3 separate regions of the Homo sapiens genome follow, and all the other regions are linked to region 2. The links are contacts of gene promoters, found by promoter capture Hi-C in human tissues and cell types (Jung and others, 2019). All regions are on one chromosome and are shown on one strand. The core of a region is centred on a gene start or on the middle of the fragment in contact, and the rest is flanking DNA. Distances in the headings are between cores, read along the strand shown. Region 1 holds the start of ZNF773 (zinc finger protein 773). Region 2 holds the start of ZNF264 (zinc finger protein 264). Region 3 has its middle 12 kb from the start of ZSCAN4.

What was found. Contacts are between HindIII fragments. The study calls those that stand out against the background at their distance.
Region 1: the fragment with the promoter of ZNF773 here is called in contact with the fragment with the promoter of ZNF264 in region 2 in 1 of the 25 tissues and cell types used here (adrenal gland).
Region 3: a fragment that was not itself captured here is called in contact with the fragment with the promoter of ZNF264 in region 2 in 2 of the 25 tissues and cell types used here (heart left ventricle and pancreas).

The regions. Positions count from the first base shown.
Region 1 is chr19:57,498,432-57,502,019 of GRCh38, forward strand. ZNF773 (zinc finger protein 773) reads left to right here and starts at 1,507. Exons shown (of 4, transcript NM_198542.3): 1 at 1,507-1,682. The coding sequence starts at 1,650. The HindIII fragment of the contact is 9,164 bases long and covers 1-3,588 here.
Region 2 is chr19:57,189,765-57,193,371 of GRCh38, forward strand. ZNF264 (zinc finger protein 264) reads left to right here and starts at 1,736. Exons shown (of 4, transcript NM_003417.5): 1 at 1,736-2,182. The coding sequence starts at 2,150. RefSeq lists enhancers at 1,572-1,631, 1,652-1,741, 1,752-1,811 and a silencer at 1,982-2,251. The HindIII fragment of the contact is 13,408 bases long and covers 1-3,607 here.
Region 3 is chr19:57,654,938-57,658,300 of GRCh38, forward strand. It overlaps a transcript of ZSCAN4 not described here. Among named protein-coding and RNA genes, the nearest start is that of ZSCAN4, 12 kb to the right of the region's middle. The HindIII fragment of the contact is 8,692 bases long and covers 1-3,363 here.

The DNA.
Region 1 (3,588 bases), core at 257-2,756, 310 kb after region 2:
TTTTTGAGACGGATTCTCTCCCTGTCGCCCAGGCTGGAGTGCAGTGGCATGAACTCCACTCACTGCAAGCTCCACCTCCCGGGTTCATGCCATTCTCCCGTCTCAGCCTCCCGAGTAGCTGGGACTACAGGCACCTGCTACCACACCCGGCTAATTTTTTGTATTTTTTAGTACAGACGGGGTTTCACCGTGTTAGCCAGGATAGTCTCGATCTCCTGACCTTGTGATCCACCCGCCTTGGCCTCCCAAAGTGCTGGGATTACAGGCGTAAGCCACCACCTCCCTACTCTTTCTACCCAATAAATATGAAGGTCTGTGGAAGCTCAGGGCCCTTCCTCACTAGAAGCAAGAAGCCCCCTGACCCCTTCTTTAAAACAGATTTATTTTGCCTTTGTTTTCATTTCTGCATTCGTTCCCCTTCGTTCAGTCCCATAGTAACTGTGACAGGAATATGGAGCAGAAATGGATGAAGGGGAGAAATTGAGGGGGAGTTGGCTTATGGGTTTGCTGCCTGTTGTTGTGCCTTTACACCAATGTTGGGTCCTTGAGGAAGGAAAGAACACAAATGAGAATGGGGTGAAAGAGGAACGTAAATCCTTGGGCTCCCCTACTCTCTCATCACCTACATCCAGAATTCAGAGCCTTTTCTTATTATCATACATCAGGCATTAATATTGGGTGTCCCCTTGCCAAAGGAAATTTAGGAAGGTATACGTGGCTTTGCCCAGTGAAACCTCTTTATGGTGGCCCTGAAGATCCTCTTCAAGTCCTTCAAAAGAAGGAAAGATTGGAGTATCAGCTGCAGGAAACTGAAATCCAGGCCCATCTCCAATTACAACAGGTTCCAGATGAGTCCGAGAGTTCTCGACACTCATTTCTCCTCCATCTCCTACTCCATCATCTCCATCTCCATCTTCTCCATCATCTCCATCTTCATCATCATCTCCATCTCCATCATCTCCATGTCCATCATCATCTCTATCTCCATCATCTCCATCTCCATCATCTCCATCTCCATCATCATCTCTATCTCCATCATCATCTCTATCTCCATCATCTCCATCTCCATCATCTCCATCATCTCCATCTCCATCTCCTACTCCATCATCTCCATCTCCATCTTCTCCATCATCTCCATCTTCTCCATCATCTCCATCTTCTCCATCATCTCCATCTTCATCATCTCCATTTCCATCATCTCCATCTCCATCATCATCTCTATCTCCATCATCTCCATCTCCATCATCTCCATCATCTCCATCTCCATCTCCATCTCCATCATCTACCGTCTCCAATCTCCATCTCCGAAGTTATGCCCACTTCCTCGAAGTTTGGAGCCACGCGAACTACACTGCCCAGAAGGCGCCGCGCCGTGAGCCGCGATGCTTGGCCAATGAAAAGAGGTCTACCCGAGAGTGCGACGCGCAATGGGCGGGACTTCCGGCGTCTCCCCTCGGCGGTTGCTTTCGCTGCCCTCAAGAGAACTCAGCTTGCCGGAAGCTGGTTGTTCGCTGCGGCGACCAGCTCCGGAAAGCGCGGTGGGGACGCGCTGTGTTCTCGCAGCTCAGAGGCGGGTCTGAGGCTCGGTGGCGGCGCCCAGGGTGGCCCGGGCCCTTTCCTCGGTCGTTGTCTCACCGCCACAGGCTCCGATGGCGGCGGCCACGCTGAGGGACCCCGCTCAGGTGAGCGCCGCGTCCTCCCGGCCTCCCCCGAATCCTAAAGCCCTGTGAGGGCCGCCTGCTCAGGTCCCCGGGTGCAGAACTGTGGGGCGTTCGTGGGCGGCGTCCCGTTTCTGACACGCAGTGTGATGGGGTGGCAATGGAGGGCAAGGGGCCCGGCTCGCAAAGATGTGAGGCGCATTCAGCGAGTCCCGAACCTGAGGCCTCCTGGTGTCTGTAGTGGGCAGCTTGGGAAGGGACGAGGCGCGTGTCGAGCGACAGCCCGAGCAGCTGCGCTTTCATCCTGAGGGGGCCACAGTGGCCGCGGAGGGCTGGAGACAGAAGAGTGACAAGATCTGTTTCTCAAAGTTTGCCAAAGGCCCTTCAAGTCAAAACAGACTGGGGTGGGGGTGAGGCGGGTGAAGACAGACCTGTGAGTAGGTAAATTCAGTAGACTAGTGGAGAGTCTACTGGGACTGGGCCACAGAGGAGGGGAAGTGATCAGATCTTGGATGGATTTCAAAAACTGAACAGACGGGAATTCCTGTTGCATCAGATGTGACTGTGAAAGAAAGTAGGGAATGAAGAGCCATTCTGGATTTTTATTTGTATTTTTGTTTGTTCCTGAATATCAGGAAGGATGGAGATGGGTAAGGCTGTGCAGGGAATAGGTTTTGGGCATGGTGATCCTGAGATGTCCCAGAGTGGAGGTGTCATGTCCACATGAGCAGCTGGAAGGCCTGGGGCTCGTATTTAGGAGGGAGAATCTTAAAGTTTTCTTTCAGATGGTCCCTGAGGTGAGGGAAGGGAGAGATGGGCCTGTAGGATGGGGCAGCCTCTACAGCCTGGAGTTTCGTGGTCCGAAGTGATTTTGTCTGGTGCCTGCAGGAATGGAGGGTTATAGAGTATGAACACCCAGGACTGGATGGAGACCGCAGTGTTGGGTAGTATATAGGTTTGCCACTCCAGGCTTAGTAGTTCCTCATGTCCAGTCCATATGGAGAAAAGGAAAGGTCAGCCAGGCTGGTGGAGCAGCACCTTTGGTGCCTAAGTTTCCCTAGCTATCAGCACAGGTGGGATGATCAACTGCTCCAGTAGAAGGGAGGGCTCTCAGCAGGATGGTCTTCAGGGGAGTATATAGCAGGCAGCCAGATTGCCAAAAGGAAACCCACATTGTCTTTCTTTTTCTTTCTTTTTTTTTTTTTTTTGAGACAGAATTCTGCTCTTGTGATCTGCCCACCTCGGCCTCCCAAAGTGTTGGGATTACAGGCTTGAGCCACTGCACCCAGGCAGAAACCCACATTTTGAAAACCTACCAGTTTATTTGCACTGAAAATGTTGACAGAAGCATTAATTATGTGTACAGTAAGAGTTGATATTTAGTCCTAGACACATAAGAATGAGTTTGATACAAACAATAGTCCTATTGAGTGAATACCATTATTGCCATGTTGCAGATGGCAATACCAAGGCACAGGGAAGTTGAGCATTTTTCCAAGGGCACACAACAGGTAAGAGGCATCACTAAGAACCAAAGCCCAGATTGCAGATAGTCAGGCACACCTGACTCCAGGCTAGACGAGGGGGCTTGGATGATCCTTTGGTAACATCACTGTCTGGTTCTCATGGTCTTGATTTTCCATAGGTTCTTGTGACTTCAGAGTTAGTTATAGACCATGAGAAGGTAAGTGGAGGATGTCTCAGGCCCTCACCCTCCTCAACTCCTACCTACATGGTCTTCAGAATTATGGTGTCTTGGGACTCCTTGCTGGCTATTCTCCCTCCCCTTCCATTTGAGTTCCCTGCAAAATGGTCATACAGTCAGGGTCCTGAGTCCAGACTACATATTATTATTTATTTATTTATTTTTGAGACGGAATTTAGCTCTTGTTGCCCAGGCTGGAGTGCAATGGTACAATCTCGGCTCACC
Region 2 (3,607 bases), core at 486-2,985:
AAATACAAAAATTAGCCAGGCATGGTGGTGGGCACCTGTAATCCCAGCTACTCGGGAAGCTGAGGCAGGAGGATCGCTTGAACCTAGGAGGCAGAGGTTGCAGTGAGCGGAGATCGTGCCACTGCACTCCAGCCTAGGTGAAAGAACAAAACTCTGTCTCAAAAAAAAAAAAGAAAGAAAGAAAGAAAACTATAGCGTTAGATTAACCTTTGAGTTAATCTGAGTGGCCACGTGGTCATCTATGGTATGCAGCCACCCACAATACCCCTCCTCAGCATAAAGCAGCCAGAAAGATCACGTCCAGATTCCCCATGATTGAGGAATTGATAAATAGAAACAGGGAACTGAAACCAGCTCCAGTGTCCCATAGAACTGATATTTATGGTTTCTTTTGAATCAACACATTATAGACATTGAGCCTCCCCTTCCTAAAACTCGAGACACTTTTATTTGTCTTATCTGATTTCCTTTCTCAGGAAACCAAGCATCAGGCCTCCCAGATAGTATAAAGAAACTGAAACTTACTGGATTACCACATCTGGAAAAACGAGATGCTATACCCCTTACCCATGATGATTGCCTAACTGACCATCTGCTGCCTGTTGACCCATTCCTCTTCCTTACCCCTTCCTAATTCCTGTTTTCTCAAACATAGTTACACTTCTTCCCTGATGTATAAACCCCTAGTTTTAGTCAGTTGAGGAAAGAGATTTGAGATTGATCTCCCATTTTCCTCAGCTGCAGCACCGAATAAAGCCTTCATCCCTGACAATACTCATTGTCTTGCTGACTGGCCTTCTGTGCAGCAAGCAGCAGGATCTAGATGCAAGGACCTGGCCTTTCTGGTAATATTGTCATCAACCATTTAATGATGTAGACTTGGTCCCCGGCTCATGCTCTGTGTATTTTCTTCTCCATCTACATGCATTGCCTTGATGGTCTCACTCAATATCATGACTTGAAATAACAGTGTAAGGTAACTCCTAAATTCATATATTCATGCTCAAACCTTCTTCCAACATTCAGTCGTAAGTCGAATTGCCTGTGACAGAGATACTTTGTGGTTCTGTAGACATTTCAAACTAACCATCCTGAGCCTCCGAACCTCCTCCACTTGCAGCCTCCCCACCTCAGAAGTGGGCAAATCCACTTTTTGTGTGGTCTGGGCCAAATACATGACTCCCTGCATCACGTAGAGGCTGTGCTGGTCCAAAGAAGGCTCAAAAGAGGGCAGTTTGCGCACACAACGTGTCGGGGCAGGGCTTCCAGATGATCATTCGGCTTTTTTGTGTCTTCCAAGATGATGATCCGGGGAGGAGGGATGTGAAAGGGGGTCAGTCGCCAGGCGAGCTGAGGACCCAGTTCTGCGCCTTTGCCTGTGCCCTGACCTGAAGGAAAGTCCCTGTCTCCCGAGCTCCGATTTTCCCGAGAGAAGAATGCAATGTAACCCTTGCCCCTCGGTTCCCTCCCTCCATCCTTCCCCTCGAGTTGTGCCCACCGTAAAGAGGTGGGTCTGGAGCGTCTCCTCGGGTCCTGGAGTGCCTTTCCCTGGGAGGAAAACTTGCGCCGTGAAGCGTTCCTCCCGTTGTTGAACACATGAGGAAAACTACACTACTTAGAAGGCTGTGCATTATGCGTACGGCGGGAGCTGGGCCAACGACGGCCTAGGACGGGGACGTTTCCGACGGCTCACGCCGGTGGGGGCGGGACTTCCGGGTTGCTCGCTGCGGACGCCATTTTCTTCTGCACTTCTGTCTGGAGAGGTCTGTAGCCACTGAGGGCCCCGGTCGGGGCCGCTTTGCAGGTCCCTAGTCAGGACCGAGCAGGGGAGTAGGATAGGAATCCCCGCCGCACCTTTGTACGAGCCTGACCCCTTCCGTGGGTTTGTTCCTGGGTCGCCGTCAAGCTGCGGTCTCTCCTCCCCCGCCCTTCAGCCCCGCGGTCTCCAGGGGCGGCGCCCTGGGTCTGGAACGCGGTTGCCACCGAGGAGGCGGCGGCCCTGCGTCTGGAACGCCGTTGCCACCGAGGAGGCGGCGGCCCCGAGCGCGCCTGGAAGCCCCGGGCAACCGGCCAGGGTCGGGCACAGGTGGGGTCCGTCAGGCCGCCCGGGGCTCCTCTGTCCCAGCTCTGCGGCCCAGGGGGTGACGTGATGGCGGCAGCGGTGCTGACGGACCGGGCCCAGGTGAGTGGACGGTGGCTTCGCGGTTGCCGCTTCCTTGCCAGCGCTGAGGCGGTTTCCGAAGTGGGTGGGAGCCCAGGTATCCCCTGGATTTGTCTTCGCAGTCGTCGTTCGCTTTGGTGTGTGGAGCTGGTTTGCCACTTAATTTATACCTGGCCGTAAGGAGTGTTGGGCCTACTGGAAGGAGCTCCGTAGGTTGTTGAGTGAATGATGCTTCCTCTGGGGACTCCCATCATCCTTGGCCTGCAAGCATTCTCTGGTGGACCAGGTCTCATTCCAGCATGAATTGGGGGCCTGAGGGGGGAAGGGGAGGGCAGGGCAGTAGCAAGCCGACAAATGCGCGAGCAGAGACAAGGTATGTTGTATGTTTAAGGAGGCTCAGGAGGGTGTGTAAGGTTGCCATGGTTTTCCTGCGGCCGCTGAGACGTGGAGGGCAACAGTGTGTGGTCTTTTCCTGGATGTTCTAGCCATCCGCAACTACTGCAGACATTGTGGCCAGTCAGATGCCCTTACTCTCATCGCTACAGCCTGCATTATCCTTGGCCGCTCGTGTTCCGTGGCCCCAAAGTATCCTGGCGTCAGAGACAAGTTCTGTCGGAACCCAGTAAGGAAAGAGGCCGATGGTTGGTTCATTGTGGAATTTCCTTGGGGGATCTGGGAGACCCAGGGAGATCCCAGAGGGCATGGGAAGCTGGTCTGGAGCCTGTCGTTCCCCAAGTAGATGCAGCCCTTCCAGTGCCGCTCTGTGGGGTCAGTGAGGAATGCTGAGCTTTTTGTGCCCGTGTTCACATACTTTTTTTTGTTTTGAGACAGGGTCTCACTCTGTCGCCCAGGCTGGAGTACAGTGGTGCACTCTCAGCTCACTGCAGTCTCTGCCTCCCAGGTTCAAGCAATTCTCCTGCCCCAGCCTGCCGAGTAGTTGGGATTACAGGCATGCACTACCACACCTGACTGATTTTTGTATTTTAGTAGAGACTGGGTTTCACCATATTTGCCAGGCTGGTCTTCAACTCCTGGCCTCAAGCGATCCGCCCACCTCGACCTCCCAAAGTGCTGGGATTACATGCATGAGCCACCATGCCCGGCCCACAGATACGTTTTTCAGGGCTAATTGAAATAGACTTAATGTTAGAAATGAGTGGAAATGCTTATAACTTCATCGCATTAGATTTGCTTTGATGTTGGGGGAGTGTTGGAGTTACACTGTTAGACCGTGAATCATAGTAACCCCATGTTTAGATCCTATCTATGGTGGTGAGATGTGTGACTGGGTGAATTGATAGCGCTTCCTTAGCATGAAGTCATTGACTGTGAAGGTGATGATGGTGTTGACTGCAGGGACTGTGAAAGGATTAATAAAAATCCCAGAGCACACTGAGCATTGAATACTTTAAATTTAACAACTGTTACTGGTGGGAAGTGTTATTG
Region 3 (3,363 bases), core at 355-2,854, 470 kb after region 2:
CAATACATCAATAACACCCTTCTCTGTAGCCCCTCCCTTAACCTATCTATCCATCCAACACATCATTCAGCTTCTAAACTTTCTCCATTCTTGGGGATATTAGGTCTCACTCACAAAGGCTCAAGTAACCCAACCCCAGGTTACCTACCTTGGACTTATCCTAATCCCTAATATTCAGGCCATACCAACCCAATGGAAGAAGCTAATCCGGGATATGCCCCTTTCTCATACAAAGAACCTCCTTTCCTTCTTGAGCCTTGTGGGATACTTCTGGCTATGGATTCCCAACTTGCTGACCAAGCTGCTGTACACCACATCACGTGGGCCCATCCTAGAACACCTGGATCCAGTCTGTACCATTGACTCCCAGTTCAAAAAACTGAAAAATGCCCTTTCAATGTCGCCAGCACTGGGACTACCCAACCCCAACAAGCCCTTTACTCTGTATGTTCATTCTAACCAAGGCCTTGTTCTTGGGCTACTCTGTCAAACATTCAGCGGTACCCCACAAGCCATTGTATATCTCTCAAAACAACTGAACTCAGTCATCTAAGGTTGGCCACCCTGTTTAAGGATCTTATGTGTGTCTATGCTGCTGGCCTCAGAAGCTCAAAAACTCACCCTCTATCAATACATTACCATTGCACCTTCTCATAACCTACAGGAACTCATGAGTCATTGCTCCCTTCTTTCCCTCCTGCTATCTTACTTACAACAAACACACACCTCCTACATAAACAACCTTCTAATCACCTACCAAAGATGTAAAGTTCTCAACCCAGCCACCCTCTTCCCTATAAGGACCTTTGACTCTGAACTCTGTCACTCCTGCTTGGACTTTTTAGATTCCCTTTCCTTCCCTTTCCGACACATATCAGAGACCCCCTTACAGGGGACACCTACATGGTTCATTGATGGGAGCTCCTTTAAAGAGCCATGTCTTGCAGCAGGCTACACCATCGTTGCCAAACACAAGCTCCTAGAGTCCAATACTGTCGCATCCCCTACCACCTCCTAACAGGCAGAATTAGTCGACCTAACTAGGGCCCTCACCCTAGCAATAGGAAAAAGGGTCAATATTTACACTAACTGTAAGTATGCATACCACATTCTACACTCCCAAGCCTTAATCTCACAGGAAAGAGCTTTTCTTAGTACCAAAGGGACCTGCATAGTAAATGGCAAACTGATACACAGGTTGCTGGAGGTAGCTAAACTACCATTAGAGGCCACCATTATCCATTGCAATGGACACCAGAGAGCTACAGATGCCATAACCAAGGGAAACATTATGGCAGACTCAGCAGCCTGGCAGGTGGCCCACAACATCCCATCACTGTTGTCCATTTTCCCAGCAGACATCCCTCATACACCCAGGAGGAACAAGTCAAACTAACACTGGGGCTACCCAAAGGGAAGGCTGATGTTATCTTGACACAAACTCATCCTGCCCAAATCTCAAGAACTCTCTATTCCCTCCCACATCCACAACCACTTCCATGCTGGTTATTACCACATACCCCAGTTTTTAAAAACTTACACACACTCCACCACCATGACAACCAACCTTGAATGTTTAACCAGTCTGCCCAGTTTGTGGTCAGACTTCCCCTGAAGGGGCTCTTAAACCACCTCCTTTCTCCACTCATCAGGCATGAGGCCATTTCCCAGAACAGGACTGGCAAGTTGACTTCACCCATATACCCCCTGTAAAAAAAGGAAAGGGCCAACTACAGCCTGGGAAAAATATTTGTGAAACCTCTATCTAATAAATGATGAGTATTCAGAATACGTAAAACATCCCTACAAATAGCATAAACAACACAATTTAAAAATAGGCAAAAGTTCAAGACCAGCCTGGGCAACATGGCAAAACACTGTTTCTACAAAAATTAGCTAATAAGCTGGGCATGGTGGTGTGTGCCTGTGGCCCCAGCTACTTGGGAGGCTGAGATGGAAGGATCACTGATTCCAGGGAGGTCGAAGCTTCAGTGAGCTATGATCAAATCACTGCACTCCAGCCTGGGCAACAGGGTGAGATATCATAGCTGTAATTCCAACGCTTTGGGGGGCTGAGGAAGGCGGATCACTTGAGGACAGGAGTTCAACATCAGCCTGGCCAACATGGTGAAACCTCGTCTCTAGTAAAAATACAAAAATTATCCGGGAGTGTCCAGGAGTGGTGGCAGGCACCTGTAATCCCAGCTACTCAAGAGGCTGAGGCAGGAGAATTGCTTGAACCCGGGAGGCAGAGGTTGCAGTCAGCTGAGATCGCGCCACTGTACTCCAGCCTGGGCAACAAGAGTGAAACTCCGTCTGCCCTCCGTCTGTCTGCAACAGAGCTAGACTCCATGTCAAAAAAAAAAAAAAGGCAAAATATTTGAACACATTTTTCACTAAAGATGATATATGAATGGTATATAAATGCATGAAAATAAGTTCAGAATTATTACTATTTAAGGAACTACAAATGAAAACCACAATGAGATACCACTACATACTCATTTTGATGAGTAACATTAACCGAATGATCACACCTAGCTGTTGAAGGTATGAAATAAACTGGAGCTCTCATACATTGCTGGTGGAAATGCAAAATAAATAAATTTGGAAAACACTGTAGCCGTTATTAAAGTTAGTTGTCCACTTATCATTTGATAAATTAATCTCATTCCTAAGTATAACCTCAAGAGATGGAAACGTGTCCATAGAAATACTTGTATAATCATTCCTCAGTATCCATGGGGGACTGATTCCAGGACCCCCAAGGATACCAAAACCTGAAGATGTTCTAGTCTCTTATATAATATGATGTGGTATTTGCATATAACCTGTGTATATCCTCCCACATAATTTAAATTATAATTTAAATTACTTATAATACCTAATACAATGCAAATGCTGTTTAAATAGTTGCTATACATTGTCACCTAATACAGTGTAAATGCTGTTTAAATAGCTGCTACACAATAGTTGTATTGTTTAGGGAGTAATGACCCAAAAAAGGTCTGTGCATGTTCAGTACAGATGCAATTTTTCTTCCAAATATTCAATTTGCAGTGGGTTGAATCTATAGATGCAGAACCCATGGATATAGAAAGCCAACTGATTTTGCGTGTTATCAACAATTTTCTTCAAAGCTAAAGACTGGAAAACAAAAACAAATGTCTATGCACATCTGAATGGGTAACTGTGTTACATTTATAAATAGAATATTCCTCATAAATGTCAAGGAGGGAAAAAAACATTAATCTGAATCTCAAAAGCACAAGTGAAGGAACCAAACTCAGAGGTCTATACAGAGTAAAATTTCTTTCAGATAAAAATCTAGAAATGGTAAAACTCAAGTGGCAAAATGCAAAT